2 separate regions of the Homo sapiens genome follow, and region 2 is linked to region 1. Evidence: promoter capture Hi-C in 16 types of primary human blood cells and fetal thymus (Javierre and others, 2016). All regions are on one chromosome and are shown on one strand. Each heading gives the region's core, a stretch centred on a gene start or on the middle of the fragment in contact. The rest is flanking DNA. Distances are from core to core; before and after follow the strand shown.

Region 1 (6,442 bases), core at 1,404-3,903:
AACAGTGAGCAACTTGAGAGCAGACACTGTCACCACCTCTAGGTATAAAATAGGGATTCAATATACGTTTGCTGAATAAAATTATAATCCAGAGTTTTTCAGTTCTAATCTGAAAGCACACGTTTATACAAATGAAATAATGTACATACTATTTTTGATAATGCCCTTTTCACACTATTTTTCATATTCCTATCAGTCTTCATAATCTTAATGGCTTTAAAATATTCCATCATATTTATATAACTTAGAAAATGATTCCCTTCGTGTTGTCTTTAAAAGTTATTTCCAGGGGTTTTTTTTTGTTTGTTTGTTTTCTGAAACAGGATCTCATTCTGTTGCCCAGGCTGGAGTGCAGTAGCATGATGATAGCTCACTGCAGCCTCGAACTCCTGGGCTCAAGTGATCCTCCCACCTCAGACTCCTGAGTAGCTAGGACTACATACAGGCGCACACCACCATGCCCTGCTATTTTTTTTTTTTATTTAATTTTTTGTAGAGTCTCACTATGTTGCCCAGGTTGGTCTTGAACTCCTGGTGTCAAGCAATCCTCTCGCCCCAGGCTCCCAATGTCAGCATTTTTATATTGTATAGCTAATGTTGCAGCAAACACACCTTGCCTTACAAGTCTCATAGATTTATATCTTACTGGAAAAAGGGCTAAATTCTAAAAGAAGATAATCTTTTACAACAAAAATTCACCTTAAACAGGTTTTTACCCCATACATAGAATTCTGAAAGATAAAGAAACACACAAAGAAACTAGAATTGTATTTTGCCACATCAACTACAACTGCAAGCAATTTAAATAAATCCTCTATTATGAAATGTGTATGTCCAAAGTAAACCATGTTTTGTAGGACTGCTTCACATATATTCAGGAAAGACATTTCTGGGGGCAGGCAATAAAAATTGTGAGGTAACAGACAAGTAAGACATCTAATCAGATCTTCAATGCTTTTGGAGGGGCACACACTTCACCTCCACTACTTCCGTAGATGCATAGAGCTTGCTCAGCCCCTCAGATTGCACAAGTGTAGGCTTTGGACTTCTAAAGATACCCTGATTCCCCTTTCCCACCATTTATAGATTCGAAAGTAAAAATTTACCTGGCTATATACAAGCATTTAAACCTTGATCTTAAATAGAGGGAGCTTATAGGAAAGTCAACTATATTTTAGAAATATGAAGCTAGTTTTTATATATATATTCATTTAACAAACTTGTGTTGAGCTTCTATCACTGCATCTCTGCGGTATGGCCCTTCATTGATAATAAATCACTAACCTGGTTTCCTTTGTTTATGTGAGGAGAAGAGAAAGGAAGAGAGGAAAAACAGTTACCTGTAATACAATTTTTGTCCAAGTATGACTGCTAACAATTATCTCTAAAAATAATATAATCCATAAAAGAAGACTTCATTGAAGGGAGGAAGGGGGCTTTTGAGCCCAGACAAAATATATGCTCAAATATGTAATTTTTAAAAGAAATATGCTACGCAGCTTATATTCTGTATATGTTAAATTTCTCATGAAGCCCAATGAACGATGCCTGTGTATAATTGTGTATTGTATTGTTTGCTTTACAGGCTTTTCCATAACCGTTCACACACACACACACACACACACACACACAACCAGGATTCGCCAGAGAGATATATAACAACTAAATTATTTAAAGCAGGAATTCTATAGGTGTTGGCATATGGAACCTTTCGGTCCTCAGAAGTTCCATTCACAGACTGCATTAACATTCCATAGGACACAAAAGCGCATGCCATGACAAAGACCTTCAAGTACAAACATACAAAGACACGCTTCTAAAAACGCCCCTAAAGCCAAGTTCACAGCTGGCACTTGTGGCACACACAAGCCACTGCTGAGACAGCTGTCACAGGCCAATCACACACACCCAAGAGTGCCAGCGTGCTACCTAAGGAAGACAAGCTGATGATCAGCGCACAAATCCCCAACCCAATAAAGAAAAGCCCTAAATCCCCACCCTGGAAAGCACAATGCCTGCACCACCCAGAAAACTCCTTAAAAAAATGAAAGATCGGAGGTTTAGAAGCAACTAAACACTAGTTTACAGCAATACAGTAAAAGGGGAGTTTTATTTGGACATTCACGAGAAAGGAGCCACAATATTCAATCCTCGCGGAAGTATTATCAGCTAGCACAAGGCTTTGTCCCCCAACTGGAAAAAGGGGAAAGGAGGAGGGCGAGGAGAGATGCAGACCCTAAGACCCTGCAGCACCTCCCTCTCGGGCAGTGCACTGGGGCTGCGGCGAACTCCGCTTCCCAGGCCCCCTCCCACCCCGTGCTAGCCACCGCCTCCCACCGCAGGCCCGGTTGCCTCGGGCTCTCCTACCTTGGCTTTGCCGGCCTCCAGCTTCTTCTGTCTCTCCTCGTCCTCCATGGCCTCTGCAAGGAAGGCAGGGGAAAACAGGGGTTGAGGGGTGGTTGGGGATAGAAAGGAAAGGTCGATTTGGACGGAGGTGGGACGGCAAGCTCCACGGCCTAGAGAGCCGATTCGGTCCGGCGCTCCCCCGCCCGAAGTGGAAGCAGTCTCCGCGCTCACTGGCGGATCGTCCTCAGCCGCACGGGAAGCGCCGTCACCGCCGCCGCCGCCGCCATCTTCGTCTCCACGTAAACACACGGCGAGGCGGGAGGGGCTGGAACGTCTGTCCGCGCAGCCGCCTCGTGGGCAGGTGCTCCTGGGGTGCCGCCCCGGCCCAGCCCTCCGGGGTCAACCCTTGCCAGGCCTGGGACCTGCCTCCTACCAGCGAGGATCCCGCCGTAGAGAGCGCCCTTCCCGCACATCAACGGCTCACAGGTGGCGGCCGAGCTGAGGGGTAGGAGAGACGGAGTGTGCCAGAGGCTCCTGGCCTGACCCCCACCCTCCGTCCGAGGAATCCACTGCTATTAAAACATGAGTTTTTTTTTTCCTTCAGGTTACAAAACTAACACACCTAATGGTGAAATTGGCGAACACCTACAAGCTCCAACGGAAAAGTTCCGGTGGGGGGTGGTGGGGGGGCGGACGCCAGGTTTTCTACCTACATTAACTGCTTGACTCAAGAATTATGAGAGCAGCTAATTGCTCTTATTACTTCCTTAGCCTGAAAAGTCCCTCCCTCTTCCCTCCACTGGTTCCCACTCAATCTCCGGTTCATCCTTATAGTCCCATCGCACACGCTGCCTCCAAATGGCTTTTCTGACCTCTTGTTCCCTCCACGGCAACCGAGACACATCCAGTCAAAACTTAGTCCCCTCCCCCGACTCTTTGGGGCTTCCCTTTAACAGTAGTGTTCTGAAAGGAGCCTGAGCTTTAGAACCTCGGTTAGGGACAATGCCAGACTACACTAACTTTCTAGCGTTAATGACAAGTTACCTATCCTCCCTGAGCCTACCTGGAATTTTTGGAAGGGTTGTTAATATATGTGACTGCCCTGACATATTAAAACGTCCTGAATAATGTCAGCTTTATTTCTCCTTGGACTTCCTTTAAGTACCCTGCACCATATTTTAATAATTTGTGTGCGTCTTAGTTCAGCTCATACTCCCAGCTCCTTGATGACAGAGACTCATCATAAGTCTTGCTCATCTTGGCTTTACTAAAATGACCAGCACAGAGCTCTGCACTCAATAAACGCTTTTTGGATTGAATTGAGCAGTGTTTATAAATTTAACATTACTATCTTTCCTTGTTTCCCCGACATGTGCTCCCTCAGTCCTTTGTGTTCGTCTCCCTGCCCTCCAATGCTCACATCCATTCCTGGAGTGAACTACACATTTTAATGTCTCTGGTTGATTACTCAGATTTATCATGTTTCTCCGTTGCTTTGAGCTAGGTTGGACTGAAAAACTAGCAGTTGTGAACAAAAAATAGGCTAAAATGAGTTCAAGCGTAGAAGTGGTGTTAAGTGAAAAATTGAGGTTAAAAAACAAAAAAGGAGATAATAAAGACCTTAAGTCTACCACAAACTGAAGATGAGTTTTAAATAGCCCTCATTTAGAAATCTTAGCTTTAAAAAAGATTTTTTTCTTAAGCTCCGTAATGCATACATTCTGCCAACTTCTAACAGCCAAGTGCATATTGTCCTGTTATCTCAACCTGAATTAGGAACCAGGTAAAATTAGACATTTTATCATAGGGATGAAAGAATTGAGGCAATAAGTGATTTACTTAGTCACCCATCAAATTAAGAGTAAGGACTAGAACTAAGTGTTCTAATAGTGCAGTGATTTAAATACTGCCTGGATTGAGGGATTATGAGTGTAGATGCTGATTGCCTAGGAGGGGGAAGCCCCAGGGTATCCAAAGCTATTCCTGTTTGTTAAAGGATACTGCTTTCTCGGTGACTAAATAAGTCAGCTGTTTGTAGGTGCTGAGAATGTTCAAGAATACCTTCCAAAGCAACAAGATTATTTCAATGTTTCCTTCACTGATAGCAGCCAATCATATACATGTCTAGTTTACATAATGGGTGCTCAATCAATGTTGAAAGTTAGATTTGTGTTAACTTCTATTAGAAGAGCAAGCATTGGGCACTAGTGTTCTGACTCTTCCTTATGGCACCTATTCTGTCATAACTTGTCATACCAATCATTAATTCATGTCATGTCATTCACTTACTCAGGTGATTCTTTCAGAAGATATTTCAGCAAAGACTTGAAAGAGATGAGGAGGCTGGGCGGGGTGGTGCACGCCTGTAATCCCAGCACTTTGGGAGGCTGAGCGGGGTGGATCGCTTAAGCTCAGGAGTTCGAAACCAGCCTGGGCAACATGACGAAACCCTGTCTCTACAAAATAAATAAATAAATAAATAAAAATAAAATACTGGGTGTGGTGGCGGGAGCCTGTAGTCCTAGCTACTCCAGAGCCTGAGGCGGGAGGATCACTTGAGGCCGGGAGGCCAAAGCAGTGAGCCCAGATTGTGCCACTGCACTCTAGAGTAAGGACCTAGACAACAGGTGACACTGTCCCAAAAAACAAGCAGGTGGTGGGTGGGGGTAGAGAGCCACGGAGATAGTTGAGGGTACAGCAAATCCAAAGAAAGGCCCTCAAGCGAGACCATGATGGACCTTCTCAAGGAAGAGTAGGAGGTGAGGGTGGCTAGAGTGGAATAAACAAGGGAAATAGTAGGAGATGAAGTCAGAAAAGTAACAGGGGGCCAGATCCTGTAGAGTTCTTTTCTTTCTTTCTTTCTTTCTTTTTTAAACGGAGCCTCACTGTGTCACCCAGGCTGAATGCAGTGGCCCAATCTTGGCTCACTGCAACCTCCCGGGCTCAAGCAATCCTCCCACGTCAGCCTCCTGAGTAGCTGGGGCCACAGGCGCACTCTGCCATAGCCAGCTTATTTTTGTATTTTTTGTAGAGGCAGGGTTTCACCATGTTGCCCAGGCTGGTCTGAAACTCCTGAGCTCAAGCAATCCGCCCGCCTCAGCCTCCCAAAGTGCTGGGGTTACAGGTGATCCACCATGCCCGGCTTCAGATCCTGTAGAGTTCTAAAGGTCATTGTAAGGACTTCAGCTTTTACTCTGGGTAAGATTAGGAGCCATTGGAGAATTTTGAGCAGATGAATGACATGATTTGGCTTATGTTGTTCACGGACATTTGGCTGCTATGAGGAGAAAGGGGGATCAGTTTGGATGTTATTTCAGTAATCCCAGATAATGGGAATTTGGGCCATAGTACTGTAGTGGAGGAAAAGATATGGAATCAGATTCTGGATATCTTTTGAACATAGAACCAATAGTATCATAGGAGTTGTATATTGGATATGAGGTTTGAGACAAAAAGAAAAGTCAAGGTTGACTCCAACATTTTTGGCTTGAGCAACTGAAGTGATGAAGTTGCCAGTAACCAAAATGGAGAAGAGAAAATCTGGGGACCAAGTGTTCAGTTTTGGACATGGTAATTTAGACATACACATTAGGCATCCAAGAACTGATGTCACCCTAAGACATCAGTTAGTCTGGATTCAGGAGACAGGTCCAAGCTAGAAATAGAAATGTGAGAGTAGTCAGTATTCAGGATGTAGATGGTATTTTAAGTTAAGGAATTGGATGAGATAATCTAGGGCCATGCTATTCAATACAACAGCTATTAGCTAGTCTGAATTGAGATGTGCTGTAAGTGTAACACTTTGGATTTGGAAGACTTAATATTAAAATAAAATAACAAAATATTGCACTATTTTTATATTATTAAAATGATTATATTTGGGACCTATTGGGTTTAATAAAATATATATTAATTTCACCAGTTTCTTTTTTTTTTAAATGAAGTTACTACAAAGTTTCAAATTACATATGTGGCTTGCATTTGTGGCTCACATTATTTTTCTATTGGACCATGCTGCTTTAAGGAGCAAGTTTAGATAGAAAGGTGTTACAAAGACTGAGTTTTGGAATACTTCAACTCTAAGAGGGAGGCAAGG
Region 2 (6,853 bases), core at 1,552-4,051, 1.2 Mb before region 1:
TATCTTCGTTAAATGCTCTGGTTTTGTGTTGGTTGGCCTCCAGCCAGGAGGTGGCATTTTCAAGAGTGCATTAGCTGTGGTACTATAGGGAGGAAGCAAACTTGACCTAGGGTCATCTAGTTATATATTCATGTTTCTGAGGCAGTGGGCAGAATATGTCCTTTGTCTTGCAACCAGGGCAGGTAAAGAAAGACCAACAGGTTGGGGCAGGCATAGGTGTGGCTGAGCTCAGACTCTTATTGGGTGGGGTCTGCTGCACTTGCTGTAGGGGGCGGGGGTGTGGTTCCCAGGCCAATGGAGTTATGTTCCCAGGGGGATTATGGCTGTCTCCACTGAGTGACATAGGACACCAGGGAAGTGGGGAAAAGCCAGCAGTCACAGGCCTCACCCCATTTCCACACAACCCACACTCCTAAAGGCCAGTCTCACTCCCACTGTGCCCCTGCCAACAACATCGAATCTATTTCCAGGCAGTCGGTGACCAGGGCTGAGAACTTGCCCCTGGCTATCAGCCTCCCTGCTGAGAAAGCAAGCAGACTCATGACTTTTCTTTTTGGCATCTCAGAGAAACTGCAGTGGCGATACAGTTCCTTCAAAGGGTCTGTGAATTCTCTTGGCTTTCCTGGTATGTTGCTGCAGTAATTCTTGAAGCAAAAGTTCATGATGTGAGTCTCCACATGCTGTCCTGTCTGTCCCAGCAGGAGCTGCAAGCTAGTCCTGCCTCCTCACCCTCACAGAACCACCAGAATAATGTTTGACCAAATATCTAGGCACTCTGTGGCCCGGTCAAGTTGACCCATAAAATTAACCATCACACTGGTCCCCATGCAAAGTGAAACCCAGGTTTTGGAGTTCAGGCCCAGGGTCCCCTTACGAGGAGGGCTCCTGAGGGTGATAAGTGTAATGGTCATATCTAGGCTGTCCTTCATAGCCACTTTCTTTCTTCCTAAACCTCAGGATTTAAGAGCACTGGCCTGAAACCTGGATTCGAATCTCTGCCATGTATTAGTTATGCAAACTTTAGCCATATTATTTAATCTCTATGCCTCAGTTTCTTCACCTTTAAAATTGAGATAAAAATAATCTCTACCTCAGGAGATTGTTGTGAAGAGTAATTAAGTTAATATGAAACATTTAGAACAATGCCTGGTACATGGTAAGCGCCCAATAAATATTTTAAAATAAATGTTTTTAAATGTTTTCATCTAAAACCAGTGTGAATCAGTTGTGGGATGTGGAAACCAAAAGCTAATTGAGCACACACAATAAATATCAGTACTTGCTGTTAGTTTTTAAAATATCAGCTATTTTTGTTGCTCTCACTCAGGCAGTTTTCTCTCTGGCCCTGACACTGACCTTAGAAAAGATAAATCTCTACAATGTGACCATCAGGTCTGCTGCAGCCCTGGTCTGCTCTGCAATAAATGAATTTAGCACTTATTGGGGTGCTCAAAGAAGTCCTATCCCTGAAAGACATTCTTTACACTTTAGGAAAACAGGAATGGACAGTAACTCCACCCTTAAAGGCCAGTGAAATATTGACCTAGAGTATCTCCAACCTGGTGCTCTACAAGGCTGGGACTGCAATGTAAACTCATATTCCCAAGGGATCAATTAAGCCAGAATATCCCACAGTTTGTCTATAACAAGACAATGGGGCTTTCTGCAGCCCTCAAAACTCTCAAGTGAGGAAAAATTGTTAAGCCTTCAGATTTTAACCAAGCAGACCAGAAGGTGGTATATAGCCATAGCTTATTAAAAAGCATTTCAGATAGAAAAGGCGGTGCTGTAATTTCAGATCTGAGAAATGAAACTGAAACCAAACCTATATTCTTCCTTCCCCAACCTCCCAGTTGTTAAACACGCCCTGCTGTTTCTGAGCCAATTAGAGCTTGCTGTGAGACAGAAGCAGAGAATACATAGACTTCCGTTAAAACCAGAATGAGGAAAATACTTTTCTCTAGCATCGTAGGAGGAAGAAAACAAACACATCAGATATTTTCAGCACTAAAAGAGATGGTTTTCCCCACATATATGTAAAAGAAATTTGCAAGACTACTGGGTAAGTACAATATCTATTATTAATATTGTTCTTACTATCTATAGCAGCATTTTATTGAATAGAAAGAAATATACTTTTCAATTAGAAGCTTCAAATATACCTCAAAACAAAAAATAGTATTCTAAGCCTAGAAATTCTAGACTATTTGTTGCTCTGACAGCAGTCTGCTTTATATTAGTTGAAAAATTAGTCATAACATTTCATTAAAGATGCAGTTGAAAACTACAGACACTTTTATTGATGAACTCTCCCAAGGCATACAGCATCTTCAGAAAGAACAAACAGGCCAGGTGTGGTAGCCTGTAATTTGAGCACTTTGGAAGGCAAGGACAGGAGAATTGTTTGAGGCCAGGAATTCAAAATTAGCTTGGGCAACATAGCAAGACCCTACCTAGCAAGATTCCTACCAAAAAAAAAAATAGCTGGATGTGGTGGCACGCAGCTGCAGTCTAGCTACTTTGGAGGCTGAGGCAGAAGGATTGCTTGAGCCCAGGAATTTAAGGTTACAGTGAGCTGTAATTGTACCACTGCACTCCAGCATAGGCAACAGAGTGAGACACTGTCTCAAAAACAACAACAACAACAACAACAACAACAACAACAAACGGAAAGATAGATAAAGAACAGGCAATGAAAACTTAAAAGTACTTTACTTTAATCAAATACAACTTCCACCATCTACTCTAAGAAATAGGTAGCTTCCAGAAAACAAAACTCTCTGAGAGCTTCTCAGATATTGTTGTCGGATGACATACATAGGAAGACAGACAGACAGATAGACTACTATGGGAAGTCTTTGGAATTAAGGCAGCTTTATGTTCCTGGCAAAAATACTAGGTTTATGTCTAATTTCTCCCCAAAGCAAACAGTAAGATAATGCAAGACGGTTGGAGGATCACATTTCTGAATAAAGGTCTGACCTTCAACTCCCTTCTAGAAAAGTTAACAAACCCTACAGTTTAACACCAACCAGAGTTAAAAAATGTATGTGGGTTCAATCAGTAACAAATAGTGTTTCCTACTAAGATGCTCAGAACCAAATTTTCAGGTCAGTTTTTAAAGTATACGGAATCAAAACCAGTAATTTTAGGTACTAATTTTACTCCCTCATTTCACCTTTTCTCCCCCTACCCTTATTTAGCCTTCCCCATGATTTCTTTACCTAAGGGTTTTAATATATGTGTGATCCTATATTACTTTCTAAATTACCTAAAAAACATTTTGGAACGAGAGGGTATAAAGAAATCATTAATATGTAAAATATCTATGAACAGTGGCATAAATACCTATGAATGCTGGCATATATTTTCTCCAAGAGTGACATCATCAACAATTTTTTTAAAATAATGTATTGAAAGGCACAGCTATCAATAATCTGACAAAAGCTTTAGGGGAAGAAGTGTGAAAGTGTAACCTGTTCAATGACATTTGAAATATTCATAGTGTCTCTAGTAGAGAAAACAGTCAAAAGTCACTTCTTTATTATTTGCTTACTTTCCCAACCAAATGTTCAGGCCCAGTTCTCCATCCCCCACACTCTTATATGAGAACCTGACTTTACGTTTTCACATATAATGGTATGTAGTTCTTGCATGAATCAAATAATCCATCTAATTCACCAGTCTCATAATCTAGTTTATGACATATCACCAGAGACTAAGGACTGTGTCTGTAAAACTGTGAAAGGTCCAAGTTGATGAAGGAAGTCAGGGAGACCCTAGGAAAAGGGTACTGGTGGGAAGCGGCGAGATGGGGGATGAGAGCCATAGGTATGAGGCCTCAGGAGCCAGCGCACGCTAGCAGCACAATAATCGGGGACCCCTGCTTTATGTGTTAAATAGTGTGGGTGCAACAAAAGTGAGCATACTTTCATAGGGTGGAGTAGACGTGACTCAGTAAATGGATACAAGAAAGTGACTCAGATAGAATGGTTACTAGACGAGGGTGTAGTCAGTTTTTAGACAACTCTAAAACCAGTATTGAATCAACACTGAGTGGGATGCAGAAGTCAAAAGTTCATAATCTGAGACTGCAATAATAAACACCTAGTAAAACTTTAGGACCTCACATACCATTGAATTCACAATTATCCTTGATTCATAACACACCATCATCTTTTTTATGCAAGTATCTCTTTTATTTTATTCATCCGTTTTATTTTCTAATGTATTTTGGAGGCATTATTGGCTTTTTAAATACAGTATAACTTGTATACAATGAACAAACTTAAGGGTAAGCCTTTATGAAATTTTAATATGTACTTATCTGTGCAACCGCTAGCCATATCAAGATATAAAATATTTCCATCACCCCTTCCCAGAAAATATCCACCCCCCAACATCAGTCTGACTTCTATGACAGATTACTTTTGCCTATTCTTAAACTATATAAGTAGAATTCTACAATATGTTTTCTGTTGTAACTGGCTTCTTTCACACAGTATGATGTGATATTCATTCATGTTGTTGCCTGTATCAGTACTTTAATAATTTTCATGAGAATTGCAGATCCAAAGAGTAGGTATATATTTAACTTCACAAAAACTGATAGTTTCTTGAAGTGGCTAAAACAATGTACATTCCCACAGACAGCATATGAGAGCTCCACTGACTCCACATCATCACCAACATTTGGCATTAACAGTCTTTAATTTTAGCCATTCTGGTAGGCATGTAGTATTATCTTGTTGTAATTTTACTTTGCATTTCCATTACGGTAAACATTTTGGAACACTTCTAATTGCACTTCATTAGACCCGCCCCTGTGACTATGAAAATCCCCACTGGTTTTCCTCCTCCCGGTAGGCCAAGTCTAATCCTTAAACCCAACCCCAAATCAACAAATGCCCCCAAAGCTTACATAGACAGGGATCTTTCCTCTCTGGAATTTTAGTTCATCCAGTCCTTGTCATCTGGTCTATTGATGACTTTGTGATTACTTAAAAATATGAGTTTTGCAATTTTTCAGATTTTGATCTCATGGTTGCAGTGGGTGAATAGGTGGCCTTTTGTGATCTCCTACATCACCCTGGAAGTGAGACTTCTTCGGTTTCTTCTAGAGTCAGTTTGGTAAGCTATATTTTTTAAGAATTTGCTCAATTAATCTCAGTTTTCAATTTATTCAGTTAAAGTTGGTTCATTTTTAAAGTTTCTAATATTGCTTATTTGTGCCACCTTTCTTTTTTATTTTTTGGTTAATCATTCCATGGATGTGTCAATTTTATTACTTTTTATCTAAACAGCTCTTGGACTTCACTGAGTCTCTCTTGTCATTTTGTTTTCCACTTTATAAATTCCTGCTCTTATCTTTATTTTTCTCATTCTTCTTATTTCAGTTTTATTCTGTTATTCTTCTTTCAATTTATTAAACTGGCATTAGGTTCATGATTTTCAGTCATTCCTCCTTTTTTAAAAAACTATACTTTAAGTTCTAGGGTACATGTGCACAACGTGCAGCTTTGTTACATATGTATACATGTGCCATGTTGGTGTGCTGCACCCATTAACTTGTCATTTACATTAGGTATATCTCCTAATGCTATCCCTCCCCCCTCCCCCACCCCACAACAGGCCCCAGTGTGTGATGTTCCCCAACCTGTGTCCCAGTGTTCTCATTGTTCAGTTCCCACCTGTGAGTGAGAACATGTGGTGTTTGACTTTCTGTCCTTGGCAACACTTTGCTCAGAATGATGGTTTCCAGCTTCATCCATGTCCCTACAAAGGACATGAACTCATCCTTTTTTAAGGCTGCATAGTATTCCATGGTGTATATGTGCCACATTTTCTTAATCCAGTCTATCAATGATGGACATTTGGGTTGGTTCCAAGTCTTTGCTATTGTGAATAGTGCCGCAATAAACATACGTGTGCATGTGTCTTTATAGCAGCATGATTTATAATCCTTTGGGTATATACCCAGTAATGGGATGGCTGGGTCAAATGGTATTTCTAGTTCTAGATCCTTGAGGAATTGCCACATTGTCTTCCACAATGGTTGAACTAGTTTACAGTCCCACCAACAGTGTAAAAGTGTCCCTATTTTTCCACATCCTCTCCAGCACCTGTTGTTTCCTGACTTTTTAATGATCCCCCATTCTAACTGGTGTGAGATGGTATCTCATTGTGGTTTTGAGTTGCATTTCTCTGGTGGCCAGTGATGATGAACATTTTTTCATGTGTCTGTTGGCTGCATAAATGTCTTCTTTTGAGAAGTGTCTGTTCATCTTTTGCCCACTTTTTGATGGGGTTGCTTGATTTCTTTTTGTAAATTTAAGTTCTTCATAGATTCCGGATATTAGCCCTTTGTCAGATGGGTAGATTGTAAAAATTTTCTCCCATTCTGTAGGTTGCCTGTTCACTCTGATGATAGTTTCTTTTGCTGTGCAGAAGTGCTTTAGTTTAACTAGATCCCATTTGTCAATTTTGGTTTTGTTGCCATTGCTTTTGGTGTTTTAGTCATGAAGTCCTTGCCCATGCCTATGTCCTGAATGGTATTGCCTAGGTTTCCTTCTAGGGTTTTTATGGTTTTAGCTCTAACGTTTAAGTCTTTAATCCATCTTGAATTAATTTTTGTATGAGGTGTAAGGAAGGGATCCAGTTTCAGCTTTCTATATATGGCTAGCCAGTTTTCCCAGCACCATTTATCAAATAGGGAATCCTTTCCCCATTGCTTGTTTTTGTCAGGTTTGTCAAAGATCAGATGGTTGTAGATGTGTGGTATTATTTCTGAGGACTCTGTTCTGTTCCATTGGTCTATATCTCTGTTTTGGTACCAGTACCATGCTGTTTTGGT

Evidence for each region. The method cuts DNA at HindIII sites, captures the fragments that hold promoters and counts their contacts. A CHiCAGO score of 5 or more calls a contact.
Region 2: a fragment that was not itself captured here is called in contact with the fragment with the promoter of AKAP9 in region 1 in 1 of 17 cell types (total CD4 T cells); the score reaches 5.3 in total CD4 T cells.

The regions. Positions count from the first base shown.
Region 1 is chr7:91,937,073-91,943,514 of GRCh38, reverse strand. It overlaps AKAP9 (A-kinase anchoring protein 9), which reads right to left and starts at 2,653. Exons shown (of 50, transcript NM_005751.5): 1 at 2,368-2,653. The coding sequence starts at 2,415. It overlaps LOC124901698 (a long non-coding RNA gene), which reads left to right and starts at 2,664. Exons shown (of 2, transcript XR_007060431.1): 1 at 2,664-2,851; 2 at 2,951-3,665. RefSeq lists enhancers at 2,363-2,512, 2,551-3,112 and a silencer at 2,713-2,822. The HindIII fragment of the contact is 23,233 bases long and covers 1-6,442 here.
Region 2 is chr7:93,113,072-93,119,924 of GRCh38, reverse strand. SAMD9 (sterile alpha motif domain containing 9) reads left to right here and starts at 1,946. Exons shown (of 3, transcript NM_017654.4): 1 at 1,946-2,062; 2 at 5,030-5,130. The HindIII fragment of the contact is 1,297 bases long and covers 2,153-3,449 here.